Regions from separate parts of the Homo sapiens genome. Here all the other regions are linked to region 1. Evidence: promoter capture Hi-C in 16 types of primary human blood cells and fetal thymus (Javierre and others, 2016). All regions are on one chromosome and are shown on one strand. The core of a region is centred on a gene start or on the middle of the fragment in contact, and the rest is flanking DNA. Distances in the headings are between cores, read along the strand shown.

Region 1 (4,227 bases), core at 548-3,047:
GCCTCCCTCTTTCAGTGTGTGACCTTGAATGCTGGGTTGTCCTGACACTTACTCATCAGAAAGTGACCTGTGCCCATGGCACTCTTTCCGGTTGGACTAGTTACATGGCAACACGAGGCCTTTAGCTGCCACCAGTATCAGTATCAATAGTGCCAAAATCGAGAAATTGGTGCTAGATCCTTAGGATCAGTGATGAGTAAGCAGTCATGGTTCCTGCCCCCCCTAGTATCATGTGGAAGAAATATTAAAAATATAATAATGTCCTGAGGGAAATCAGACACTACTCTAGAGTCTTACTAGTCAGCCCATAGACCAGTAGCACCAGCGTCACTCTGAAGCCTGTTAAAAATGCAGAATATTGGCCAGGTGCGGTGGCTCACGCCTGTAATCCCAGCACTTTGGGAGGCCGAGGCGGGCGGATCACGAGGTCAGGAGATCGAGACCATCCTGGCTAACAAGGTGAAATCTCTACTAAAAATTCAAAAAATTAGCCAGGCGTGGTGGCGGGCGCCTGTAGTCCCAGCTACTCGGGAGGCTGAGGCAGGAGAATGGCGTGAACCCGGGAGGCGGAGCTTGCAGTGAGCCAAGATCGCGCCACTGCACTCCAGCCTGGGCGACAGAGCGAGACGCCATCTCAAAAAAAAAAAAAAAAAAAAAGCAGAATATCAGCTCCCCACCCGGCCTCCTGAATAAAAATCTGTATTTTAGTAAAATCTTCAGGTGACTCCTATTCACTATTAATGCTTGAGAAGCGCTGCTCTGGAGGTTTCCAGAGATGATAAGACTTGTGTTGTTTTTCAGGATTTTTAATTTTAAAAAAAATTTATTTCTTGTTTTTTTTGAGACTGTCTCGCTCTGTCGCCCAGGCTGGAGTGCAAGTGGCACAAACTCGGCTCACGCAGCCTCCGCCTTCTGGGACTTCAGGCGCGAGCCACCACGCCCAGCTAATTTTTTGTATTTTTAGTAGAGACGGGGTTTCACCATCTTAGCCATGCTGGTCTCCAACTCCTGACCTCAAGTGATCCACCTGCCTTGGCCTCCCAAAGTGCTGGGATTACAGGTGAAAGCCACCGGCCCGACCTACTGTTTTTCAGGATTCTATATAGACTGGGAGGGAAGAACGCAAATTCCGGGCGATGAGAGCTGCATAAGGGTTTTATTTTTATTCTTTTTTTTTCTTTTCTTTTCTTTTTGTTTTTTTGAGACGGAGTCTTGCTCTGTCGCCCAGGCTGGTGGGCAGTGGCGCGATCTCGGCTCACTGTAACCTCCGCCCAAGACGGGGTTTCGCCGTGTTGGCCAGGCTGATCTCGAACTCCTGACCTCAGGTGATCCTCCCGTCTCGGCCTCCCTCCCAAAGTGCTGGGATTACAGGCGTGAGCCACCGCGCCCGGCCTGTGTAACGGTTTTAGACGGGAAGGAAGCATGTTGTAGTTTTCGGTCCAGCAGTAATAGTAACAAACATAGTGCTGACAGACACTGCTAAACGCTTTATCTAATCTCCTGTAATCCTCGTAACGCCATTAGGTAGACCTATTATTACTGTACACCCATTTTATGGGTAATGAAGCCGCAGTATAGAGGGGTTAAATAACGTGTTCAAGGACGCATCGACGGGGCCAAGCAGACGGAATTGCAGCTACCTGCTTTACCACTCTAAGTCCTCAACAAACACTTCCACCTACACGTGAGAGCCAAAGCCATAGCCTCCAAGTTTTTCCACAGAGCGAAAATGTTTCGCGGAGTTTGCCTGTCTTCCTCCCCAGAGACGCAGCACAGCCGCGCCGGAAGTGCGGCGCCGTAGCTAGGAGCGGACGCCATAGGTGCATTGTGGGAAGCACTTTGCTGTCCACAGCCAGGCCGCTTGTGATGAAACTGTAACTTACAAGAAAAGGGCTGGGTTTTGAAAATAACACAGGCTCTAAAAACCCTAAGAAGCGGTGCAACTTTTGGCAGGAATCGGGGTTAGCGGGACCTCAAGGGCTCACTGCGGCTAAGTGAACGCTGACTGGTCCTCCAGCGTGAGCTAGAACAGACGTCTCTATGGTCAAGTAAACAGAGCGTGTGCTGTCTTCCCCATGTGGTGGGGTTGCGCATGATCAGTAGCTGCACCACTAGAAAGATGGCGGAGCAAGAGTGAGTGTTTGGGGCTTTGAATATCTGGAGTGGGGTCTTGAGTATCCGGTGCCATCCACGGTGTTTATGCCTTGGTGGCGGATTCCTGTGGGCTCTAGGAATAGAAAAGGCCACAGTTTACAAAGGGTGGGGGTGAGGAGGAGTAGCGCTGTGGCGGAGGAGGGAGGGGACCGCGGTCAAGTTCGGGTTATCTGGAGAGGCGAGGATTGACTTCAGGCAGCGGGCTGGAGTGCCACAGTTGAATTCACCCAGCCCGACAAGTGTTAACTCTGCAGATAGGCCTGCCCCCGCCCCAACCCCATAGATTCGTCGCTGCTAGTGCCTATGAAGAACTGTGGCCGTGAAAACCCTGTTAACTTATACGAACCCAGAGGCTAAAGGATTCATTATTTTCCGAGGCTTTGGGGATGAGTGACTATTAGGGATGGATTTATGAGGCCTGGAGTCAGAAACCGCAGGTTTCAGGGGAATCTTTCTTCAGATACTTGAAAACAGTAATGTTCCCTAAAGCCCAGGATATTGAATTGGTTTGGAAATCCATTGAATGTTCGTTTTCTTTTTTGTTGTTGTTTTTGTTTTGAGACGGAGTCTTGCTCTGTCCCCCAGGCTGGAGCGCAGTGTCGGGATCTCGGCTCGGTGCAACCTCCGCCTCCCGGGTTCAAGCGATTCTCCTGCCTCAGTCTCCCGAGTAGCTGGGATTACAGGCGTGCGCCACCACGCCCAGCTGATTTTTTATTTTTAGTAGAAACGGGGGTTTCACCATGTTGGTCAGGCTGGTCTCGAACTCCTGACCTCAGGTAATCCACCCACCTCGGCCTCCCAGAGTGCTGGGATTACAGGCTTGAGCCACCGAGCCCGGCCAAGTGTTCTTTTCTAAATGTTATCTCTGATCTCAATTTTCTGCATCAGGCAAAGAAAAATCCCTTTGGTTCCAGAAAATCTCCTGAAAAAGAGGAAGGCTTATCAAGCCCTCAAAGCCACCCAGGCAAAGCAGGCACTTTTGGCAAAGAAGGAGGTAATGGTGGGGAACCAAGAGAAAGTAATTAGAATTTTTATTTGGTGAGTTTTATCCCGCATGTGTTGGACTACATTTGGTATTGACGAGCTCCCCCCAACGGTTTGACAGACCAGGTATAGTTGTCTCTCAGTGTCCTTAAGGGGTTGGTTCCAGGACTCCCACAGATGCCTAAATCTCAGACTGCTGAAGTCCCTTATATAAAATGGTTGTAGTAGGCCGGGCGCGGTGGCTCACGCCTGTAATCCCTGCACTTTGGGAGGCCGAGGCGGGCGTATCACGAGGTCAGGAGATCGAGACCATCCTGGCTAACACGGTGAAACCCCGTCTCTACTAAAAATATAAAAAATTAGCCGGGCATGGTGGCAGGCTCCTGTAGTCCCAGCTACTCGGGAGGCCGAGGCAGGAGAATGGCGTGAACTCGGGAGGTGGAGGTTGCAGTGAGCCAAGTTCGTGCCACTGTACTCCAGCCTGGGCGACAGAGCGAGACACTCTCTCAAAAAATAAATAAATAAATAAATAACTGGTTGTAGTATTTGCATATAATCTATACTCCTTCCGCCTATGTAGTTTAAATCCTCTCTGGATTGCTTAATAGCTTTATTTATTTATTTATTTATTTTGAGGCAAGAGTCTCACTCTTGCCTAGAGTGGAGTGCAGTGGCACAATCTCGACTCACTGCAACCTCTGCCTACTGGGCTCAAGCAATTCTCGTGCCTCAGCCAACCAAGTAGCTAGGATTACAAGCATGCGCCACCACACCTGGCTAATTTTTTTTTTAACTTAATTTAATTTTGTTTTGTTTTTTGAGACAGAGACTCACTCTGTCACCCAGGCTGGAGTGCAGTGATGCGATCTTGGCTTACCACAACCTCCGCCGCCTCCCGGGTTCAAGCGATTCTCCTGCCTCAGCCTCCCAAGTAGCTGGGATTACAAGGATGTGCCACCATGCCCTGCTAATTTTTGTATTTTTAGTAGAGACCGGGTTTCACCATGTTGGCCAGGCTGGTGTCCAACTCATGGACTCAAGTGATCTGCCCACCTCGGCCTCCCAAAGTGCTGCGATTACTGATGTCAG
Region 2 (4,227 bases), core at 745-3,244, 120 kb before region 1:
GCTATGTGCCAGGAAATGGCTATTTACATGTTTTACCTCATTGAATCTTCACAACATCCCTGTGATGTACATACTACTATTATTCTCATTTAACAGATGAAGAACTGAAGTGAAGCTGACTTCCCCAGGCCTGAGAGCTAGCTAAGTCGTAGAGTTAAGATTTGTACGTGGTCTTAGCCAAAAGGCCAAGAAGCAACTAGAGCTAAGATTTGAATGGAGGCAGTCTGGCTCCTGAGTTCAGGCTTCTGACACTGCCTGTGTAATCATGAGACTACATCTGACCATGCTCATGACACCAAATCCATAGTCTTCCAAACGGGGGATCAGAGCCAACCACAGCACCTCCTTCTCTCTCACTGGTCCACCCAGTTGACAAATACTGTTAATGCTCTCTGATCTCTCTCTCTGTCTCTCTGGCCTGGCTCCCTCTCTTCAGGTTTGGCTCCTTCCTCATCTTCTTCTCCCTGGGCTATTGTTACAGTTTCCCATCTGGTCTCGTTACCCTTGGGCTTCCCTGAATCCCCCAGTTCTCTATACCGTAGCCAGTTATTGCCCTAAAATGCAAGCCGATTGTGTCACTTAAAACCTCTGCTGGCTCTCTATTGTCTCATACAGTTCAGACTCCTTAGTGTGAATGCTGGGCCTCTTGCATCTGGCCCGCGGTGTACCTCACCAGCCTCATGTCCCACCAGCGCCCTACTCCAGCCACACCAAGGTCTGCTGTCACCCAGCACACTGTGTCTGTTCACTTCCATGTATTCGTGCTGCACTTTTTAAGGCACTTTGCCAGATGGTGCAGGTGTATTGGTGAACACACAGACTGGGCTCCCTCAGAGCTCAGAAGCTAAGTAAGAGATACAGATAATTACAGTGTGGTACGATTTACACTACAATGGAAATCTGGAGTGCTGAAATTATACAGAGTAACCTATCTCAGACCAGGAGAATCAGGACTATCTTTTGGGAAATATAAGCTGGGTCCTTATGATGGAGTCGGGGGGTCCAAAAAAAAAAAAAAAAGAAAAAAGAATTGAGTGGCATCTATCCAGGTGAAGGGTGAAAGCAGAGTCACATATTCATTCTTTCTTTCTGCAGGTATTTATGGAGTACCCACTATGTTCTAGGCACTTTTCTAGGTGTTGGGACTACAGCAGTGAACGAGAGAGACCAAAAAGTCTCTGCCTTCTGGCCAGGAGGCTAGGAGAGCTCCAGTGCTTCCAGCAACAGACAGGTCATGTGCAACAAACCTGGACATGAGACAGAGACGTGTCAGGCTAAAGCAATGTTCTCAACCCTAGCTGCTCATTGATATCTCGTGGAGGCTTTACAGCATCCTAATGCCCCTTGAATAAATCTGAATCTCTGGGAGTGGGGCCTTGGCATCAGTATTTCTTAAAGCTCCCCAGGTGGTTCTCATGGGCAACCAGGGTTATAAGTCACTGTGTCAGGAACTGAAGCACTTCAAAGCTGGAAGTGGAGATCAGAGATGAAGTTAGAGAGGTGAGCAGGGGCCAGCCCACCAAGGGCTTTGTAAATCCTGTTAGGAAGTTTCAGCTTAATCTTGAAGGCACTGGAGCTGCCAAAGGGCTTAAGCAGGATGATGAGAGCATCACATTATTTTTCCTTTTTTCCCCCTTTAACAAAGGATCAGTCTGGATGCTCTGTGTGAAGTGGATTTACATGGACAAAAATAAACAGATGTTAGTTTGGAGGCCATTGCAGGAGCCAGAGAGAAATGGCATTGGGCTGCGATGATGGGAGTAAAGATAGAGGAAAGAAGGGGGAGTGTCTGAGAGATTTGGAAGGAGACTAGACAGGACTCAGTGATTAACTGGAAGCAAGAGTTGTAGAAGTTCCAGTTTGTGGAACTGGGTCTGTGGTGATCTTGGTACCTGACAGAGTGAACCTGGAGGAGAAGGTTTGGAGCAAGCTGGTAGGTCCCTTTACACATGCTGCTTGCTCCTGGGTTCCTCTGTGATCCTATGCCTCATCTTCTCTGCATAACAAGGCACTTGCCTCCTACAAGATCTGTTTTATAAATTCCTCCTCTTCTGGGAAGCCTATCTGGGTTTCGCCCTCTGTTGGTTCTGGTTAGATGATTATGAGTGTGTGAAGTCAGTATCTGTTTACAGGTATCTCTTCTGCAGCTTGAGCTTCTCCAAGCAAGGATGTGTTTTATTCCATGCTGTGTCCCTCACACAGCACCTGGGACACAGGAGGTACACAGTAAGTGCTTGTTAAAGAGATGATTTATGGCCAGGTGTGGTGGCTTAACCCTGTAATCCCAGCACTTTGGGAGGCCGGGGCGGGTGGATCACCTGAGGTCAGGAGTTCGAGACCGGCCTGACTAACATGGTGAAAGCCCGTCTGTACTAAAAATGCAAAAATTAGCCAGGCATGATGGTGCACACCTGTAATCCCAGCTACTCAGGAGGCTGAGGCAGGAGAATCACTGAACCTGGGAGGCGGAGGTTGCGGTGAGCTGAGGTTGCGGTGAGCTGAGATTGCACCATTGCACTCCAGCCTGGGCAACAAGAGCAAAACTCCATCTCAAAACAAAAAAAAATTGGGAGGCCGAGGCACGCGGATCACCTGAGGTCAGGAGTTCGAGACCAGCCTGACCAACATGAAGAAACCCCATCTCTACTACTAAAAAAAAAAAAAAAAGTGGGTCAGGGGACTTGTTCTCATTTCTAGAGTAAGGGAAAGGAGTCCAGGGGCAAGGGATATTTGCTTAGCTGATCAGGAAAGAGTCCTAGTTAAAGAGGTAGGTGCCTTAGCTGTTGACTCTAAGAGAGAGTAATATATTGTCAGCTGTATAAATTGCCTTTTGAATGTGGTTTCAACATTATTATTATTATTACTATTATTATTATTATTAGAGGCAAGGTCTTGCTATGTTGCCCAGGCTGGTCTCGAACTCCTGGGCTCAAGCAATCTGCTCATCTCAGCCTCCCAGAGAGCTGGGATTACAGGCATGAGCCACTGTGTCCGACTGCTTTTAAATTACTTTCTTGTCAAAAGGTACATAAGACCAGGCTTGGGGCTCCCATCTATAATCCCAGCAATTTGGGAGGTAGAGGCAGGTGGATCACTTGACGCCAGGAGTTGGAGACCAGCCTAGCCAACATGGCGAAACCCGATCTCTACCAAAAGTACTAAAATTAGCTGGGCATGCTGGCTGGCGCCTGTAATCCCAGCTACTTGGGAGGCTGAGGCACGAGAATTGCTTGAACCTGGGAGGTGGAGGTTGCAGTCAGCCGAGATCACGCCACTGCATTTCAGCCTGATCACGCCACTGCATTTCAGCCTGGGTGATAGAGTGAGACTCTGTCTCAAATAAAAAAAAAGGTACTTAAATCTCTTAAAACTTTTCTGCACCTGTTCTCTCACGTCTCTTCCTATCAGTGAGATGTAGTGGTGCTAATAAGTGAACAGATCTGAGTTTAAATTCTGATTAGTTGATAGGGCACCGGTGGCTCACGCCTGTAATCCCAGCAGTTTGGGAGGCTGAGGCTGGCGGATCACCTGAGGCCAGGAGTTCAAGACCAGCCTGGCCAACGTGGTGAAACCCCCATCTCTACTAAAAGTAGAAAAATTAGCTGGGCATGGTGGCACGCACCTGTAATCCCAGCTACTTGGGAGGTGGAGGATCTCTTGAACTTGGGAGGTGGAGGTTGCAGTGAGCTGAGGTTGCACCACTGCAATCCAGCCTGGGCAGCAGAGCTGGAGTGCAATAAATAAATTAATTAATTAATTCTGATTAGTTGTGCAATACTAGCTCTGTGACATTGGAAATGATATTTAACCTCTCTGAGCTTGGTTTCTTTCAACTACAAAGTGCAGATAAAGAAATATATACTTCTTTCATCTGTTGCATGAGATAATTTTAAAAAAGAAAGAAATATTTACTTCTTGGCTGGGCACAGTGGCTCATACTTGTAGTCCCAGAACTTTGGGAGGCTGAGGCAGGAGGATCACTTGAGCCCAGGAGTTCAAGACCAGCCTGGACAACATGGTGAGACCCTGCCATCTCTATAAAAAATACCAAAAAAAATAGCGAGACATGGTGGCACAGGCCTGTAGTCCTAGCTACACAGAAGGCTGAGATCGGAGGATGACTTGAGCCCAGGAGGTCGAGGCTTCAGCGAGCCATGATTGCATCACTGCACTCTATCCTGGGTGACCTTGTCTCAAAAAAAAAAAAGAAAGAAAAAGAAATACGTA
Region 3 (4,227 bases), core at 579-3,078, 89 kb before region 1:
GAAAATCATTACTGGCTTAAAGTGAGTTAATGGGCGCAGAGTTTCAGTTTGGGAAGATGAAAAATTTCTAAAGCTGGATAGGGCTCTTGGTTTCACAGCAATGTGAATGTATGTAATGCCACTCAACCAAACACTTTTAAATATTTAAAATTCAGTAACTCTATAGAGAAATAAAGGGTTTTCCCAATCCTGGAAAAAAATGGTTAAAATTGTAAATCTTACATATATTTTACCATAGTAAAAAATGAATTAGGCTGGGCCCATGGCTCACACCTACAATCCCAGCACTTTGGGAGGCTGAGGCAGGCAAATCGTTTGAGGCCAGGAGTTCAAAACCAGCCTGGCCAACATGGCAAAACTCATCTCTACTAAAAATACAAAGAAAATAGCCAGGCATGGTGGCACACACCTGTAATCCCAGCTACTCAGGAGGCTGAGGCATGAGAATTGCTTGAACCTGGAAGGCAGACATTGGAGTGAGCTGAGATCTTCCCACTGCACTCCAGCCTGGGTGACATAGCTAGACTGTCTCAAAAAAAAAAAAAAAAAGAATGAACACTTAAATATTTGTGGCAGATAGAGGTGTTATTTGCATATGGAAGAAAATTGCTTTAGAAATGAAATTTCAGATTACTGAAACTAAAGAGAAAGTATCTCTTCTTATCATGGTACCAAGCTTGAGGGTGCATAAGTCACCTATAGACGTAGAGATTGTAGTATAGGACCTGGGAATATTACATTATTTGCTCCCATGTTTACTGTTTTGTTCTAAGCCTTTAGCACAGCATTCAAAACAAGTTGAGCACTCAGTAAACATTTGCTGACTCAGTACTTGGAGAACCTAGGTAGAGTAGAATGATGGGAATCAAAAGGAAAACAGTATTCTGTTAGAGATCAGCAATATCTTACACTAGTAGAGGGATCTGTGAGAAAAAGAATCAAGACCATTGAATGTGTGGCGGCTTATAGCATTTGACATTCTGATCTGTGCACGTGATGAGAAAAAAAGTCTGATTACAGAACAGGGAAGGAGAGAAATAAGCATTGAGTTTCATTTTTTGTTTGTTTTTGAGACAGGTTCTCACTGTTACCCAGCCTGGAGTGCAGTGGTACAATTGTAGCTCACTGCAGCCTGGACCTCCTGGGATCAAGGGATTCCCCCAACCTCAGCCTCCCAAGTAGCTGGGACTATAGAAATGCAACACCATGCCCAGATAATTTAATTTTTTTTTTTTTTTTTTTTTTTTTGTAGAGACAGGGGTTTCTCTTTGTCACCCAGGCTGGCCTCAAACTCCTGGGCTCAAGCAGTCTTCCCACCTTTCCCTCCCAAAGTGCTGGGATTACAGGCGTGAGCCACTGCATCCTGCCGAGAAAATCATTTTTTATTTAAATAATGTCAAATGGAAGTATGTAGCACCCCCCCCCCACCTTCTTTTCCCCTTTCTTTCCTCTTTGAGTCTGCTGTCATTCCCTTTTTCATGAGTTTTCTCTGCTCCCCAAATAGGCTAAACAATAACCGTAAAGTGAGATTAGAGAAAATAAGAATGGAGTAGATGATGGAATTCAAAATAGCTGTCTACATTCTTCACTGAGAAAGATAGCTTTGAGTTAAAGGTGAGAGGAGCAAATCTGGGGAAAAACGGGTGAAACGGCATGATTTAAGTAGCATACCAGATGCGTTTCTGCATGGCATGGCTCTTGCTTGATGAATAATGTTCTGTATAGTAGAAGAGGAAAATACAGTGAGTGAAGGAGCTGGCAGAAGGTGGGCTGGGGGAGTTGGGGAAGAGTGAAATGAGTATGGAGAGGTGAGAGAGCTGACTGCAAAGGCATGTGGGGTGTGGATTTTAAAAGGAAAGCCCTGAGGTGGAAATCACTAACATGGTGCCTGGCTACAAGCAGAGGGAGCTCAGGACTTGACTGTGCTGGGGGTGGCCTGCCCTTTTGTAGTGCAGTTGAGGAGAGCTCAGGGGCTGTCAGAATGCTGTGTGGGAAGGTGGAGGATGAAAGAGGACCTGGGAGCAGCAACTTTGTTCTGGTTTGTTGTTTTCTCTTCCCTACCTCGTATGTACTCCCACTCAGGAAAAGATCCTGAGACCTCTCTGTACCAGATCCTCTTATACCCAGGTTCTCCTTAATCCCAATCAACTTTAATCTATAAAGTTACGATTTGTTTACTTATAAATTTATTTTTAATAAAGTTGTGAAACCGAACATGTTCTGTTTTTGTGGGTTATTTGGCTCTCTTATCTTGCAAACACATTAAACACTTAACATTACTTAAAATTAAAGCCCTGAGTCTGAGAATGTGAGAGAATAAGATATGAAAGATATTGCCTTTCTAGAAATGGTTTATTTCAGTTGAACCCAAATCCAGGACACTTTTTTTCATTAGGAGTTGAACTTTGTGTCCTGGCCTGAAATGGAAACATTTTCACAGGGAAGAAAATGAGGGGGAAAAGAAATAATATTTGTTAAACCTTCACCTTGTTTGAGACCCTGATGGGTTCTAATGGGTTTGGTTTTTGTTTTTGTTTTTTGAGATGAGAACTCACTATGTTGCACAGGCGTGTCTCAAACTCCTGGGCTCAAGCGGTCTTCTCACCTCGGCCTCCCAAAGTGCTAGGACTATAGGTGTGAACCACTGCACCTGGCCTCTGATGGGTTTTTAGTAAATACAGTCATGTGTCATTTAATCACAGGGATAGGTTCTGATGAATGCATCGTTAGGTGATTTCATTGTGTACAAACACCATAGAGTGCTCTTACGCAAACCAATATGGTATAACCTACCACACACCTAGGCTATATGATATAGCCTATTCCTCCTGTATTGTAAACCTGTACAGCATGTGACTGTACCTGGATACTGTAGGTAACTGTAACTGTATTTGTGTATCAACATATCTAAACATGGTACAGTAAAAATATGATACAAAAGAAAAAAATGGTGCACCTGTATAGGGCAGTTACCATGAATGAAGCTTGGAGGACTGGAAGTTGGTCTGGGTGAGTCAGTGAGTGGTGAAAGAATGTGAAGGCCTAGGACACTGTGCACTACTGTGAACTTAATAAACACCATACACTTAGGCTACATTAAGCTTATAAAATATTTTTCCTTCCTCAATAATAAGCTTAGCTTACTGTAACTTTTTTTCTTATGAACATTTTTGGTTTTTTTCTGAGACAGTATCTTGGTCACCCAGGGTTGAAGTCCAGTGGCGTGATCATAGCTGCAGCCTCCATCTCGTGGGTTCAAGCAGCCCTCTCACCTCAGCCTCTACTGAGTAGCTGGGATTACATGCATGTACCACCATGCCCAGCTAATTTTTTTTTTTTTTTAAATGTAGAGATGAGTTCTTGCTATGTTGCCCAAGCTGGTCTCAAACTCCTGGCCTCAAGCAGTCCTCCTGCCTCAGCCTCCCACAGTGTTGGGATTACAGGTGTAAGCCACTCCGCTTGGCCTAGATTTCATTTAACCCTGAGACTTTTTAGAAGTGCAAATAAGTATATTTAGAAATTGATGCTGAGTGTGGTGGCTTATGCTTGTAATCCCGCACTTTGGGAGGCCGAAGTAGGTGAATCACTTGAGGTCAGGAATTTGAGACCAGCCTGGCCAACATGAAGAAACCCCATCTCTACTAAAAATACAAAAATTAGCCAGGTGTGGTGGCAGGTACCTGTAATCCCAGCTATTCTGGAGGCTGAGGCACAAGAATTGTTTGAATCTGGGAGGCGGAGGTTGCAGTGAGCCAAAATCGTGCCACTGCACTCCAGACTGGGCGACGAGAGTGAAACTCTGTCACAAAGAAAAAGAAAAAAAGGAGAAAGAAATTGGCTGGCTGGTTTATTTTATTTATTTTTTGAGATGGAATCTCACTCTGTTGCCCAGGCTGGAGTGCAGTGGCACAATCTCAGCTCACTGCAAACTCCACCTCCCGGGTTTAAGTGATTCTTGTGCCTCAGCCTCCCCAGTAGCTAGGATTTACAAGCGCATGCCACCATGCCCAGCTAATTTTTTTTTTTTTTTTTTTTTTTTTTTTTTTTTTTTTTTGAGACAGAGTCTCGCTCTGTTACCCAGACTGGAGTGCATTGGCGTGATCTCAGCTCACTGCAAGCTCTGCCTCCCAGGTCCATGCCATTCTCCTGCCTCAGCCTCCCGAGTAGCTGGGATTACAGACCCAGCTAATTTTTTTTTTTTTTTTTTTTTTTTTTTTTGTATTTTTA

The links. Contacts are between HindIII fragments. The CHiCAGO score rates a contact against its expected background, and 5 or more counts as called.
Region 2: a contact is called between a fragment that was not itself captured here and the fragment with the promoter of RPL7L1 in region 1, in 1 of 17 cell types (naive CD4 T cells). The highest score is 6.5, in naive CD4 T cells.
Region 3: a fragment that was not itself captured here is called in contact with the fragment with the promoter of RPL7L1 in region 1 in 2 of 17 cell types (naive CD4 T cells and megakaryocytes); the score reaches 5.9 in naive CD4 T cells.

The regions. Positions count from the first base shown.
Region 1 is chr6:42,877,819-42,882,045 of GRCh38, forward strand. It overlaps RPL7L1 (ribosomal protein L7 like 1), which reads left to right and starts at 1,798. Exons shown (of 6, transcript NM_001366481.3): 1 at 1,798-2,133; 2 at 3,043-3,148. The coding sequence starts at 2,093. RefSeq lists enhancers at 810-1,767, 1,510-1,979, 1,768-2,724, 2,000-2,059. The HindIII fragment of the contact is 10,267 bases long and covers 1-4,227 here.
Region 2 is chr6:42,757,709-42,761,935 of GRCh38, forward strand. It overlaps a transcript of BICRAL not described here. Among named protein-coding and RNA genes, the nearest start is that of TBCC, 14 kb to the left of the region's middle. The HindIII fragment of the contact is 5,436 bases long and covers 1-4,227 here.
Region 3 is chr6:42,789,108-42,793,334 of GRCh38, forward strand. The region is part of intron 1 of BICRAL (BICRA like chromatin remodeling complex associated protein); the gene reads left to right. LOC401261 (a long non-coding RNA gene) reads left to right here. Exons shown (of 2, transcript NR_134654.1): 2 at 1,309-2,216. Among named protein-coding and RNA genes, the nearest start is that of BICRAL, 9.2 kb to the left of the region's middle. The HindIII fragment of the contact is 2,308 bases long and covers 675-2,982 here.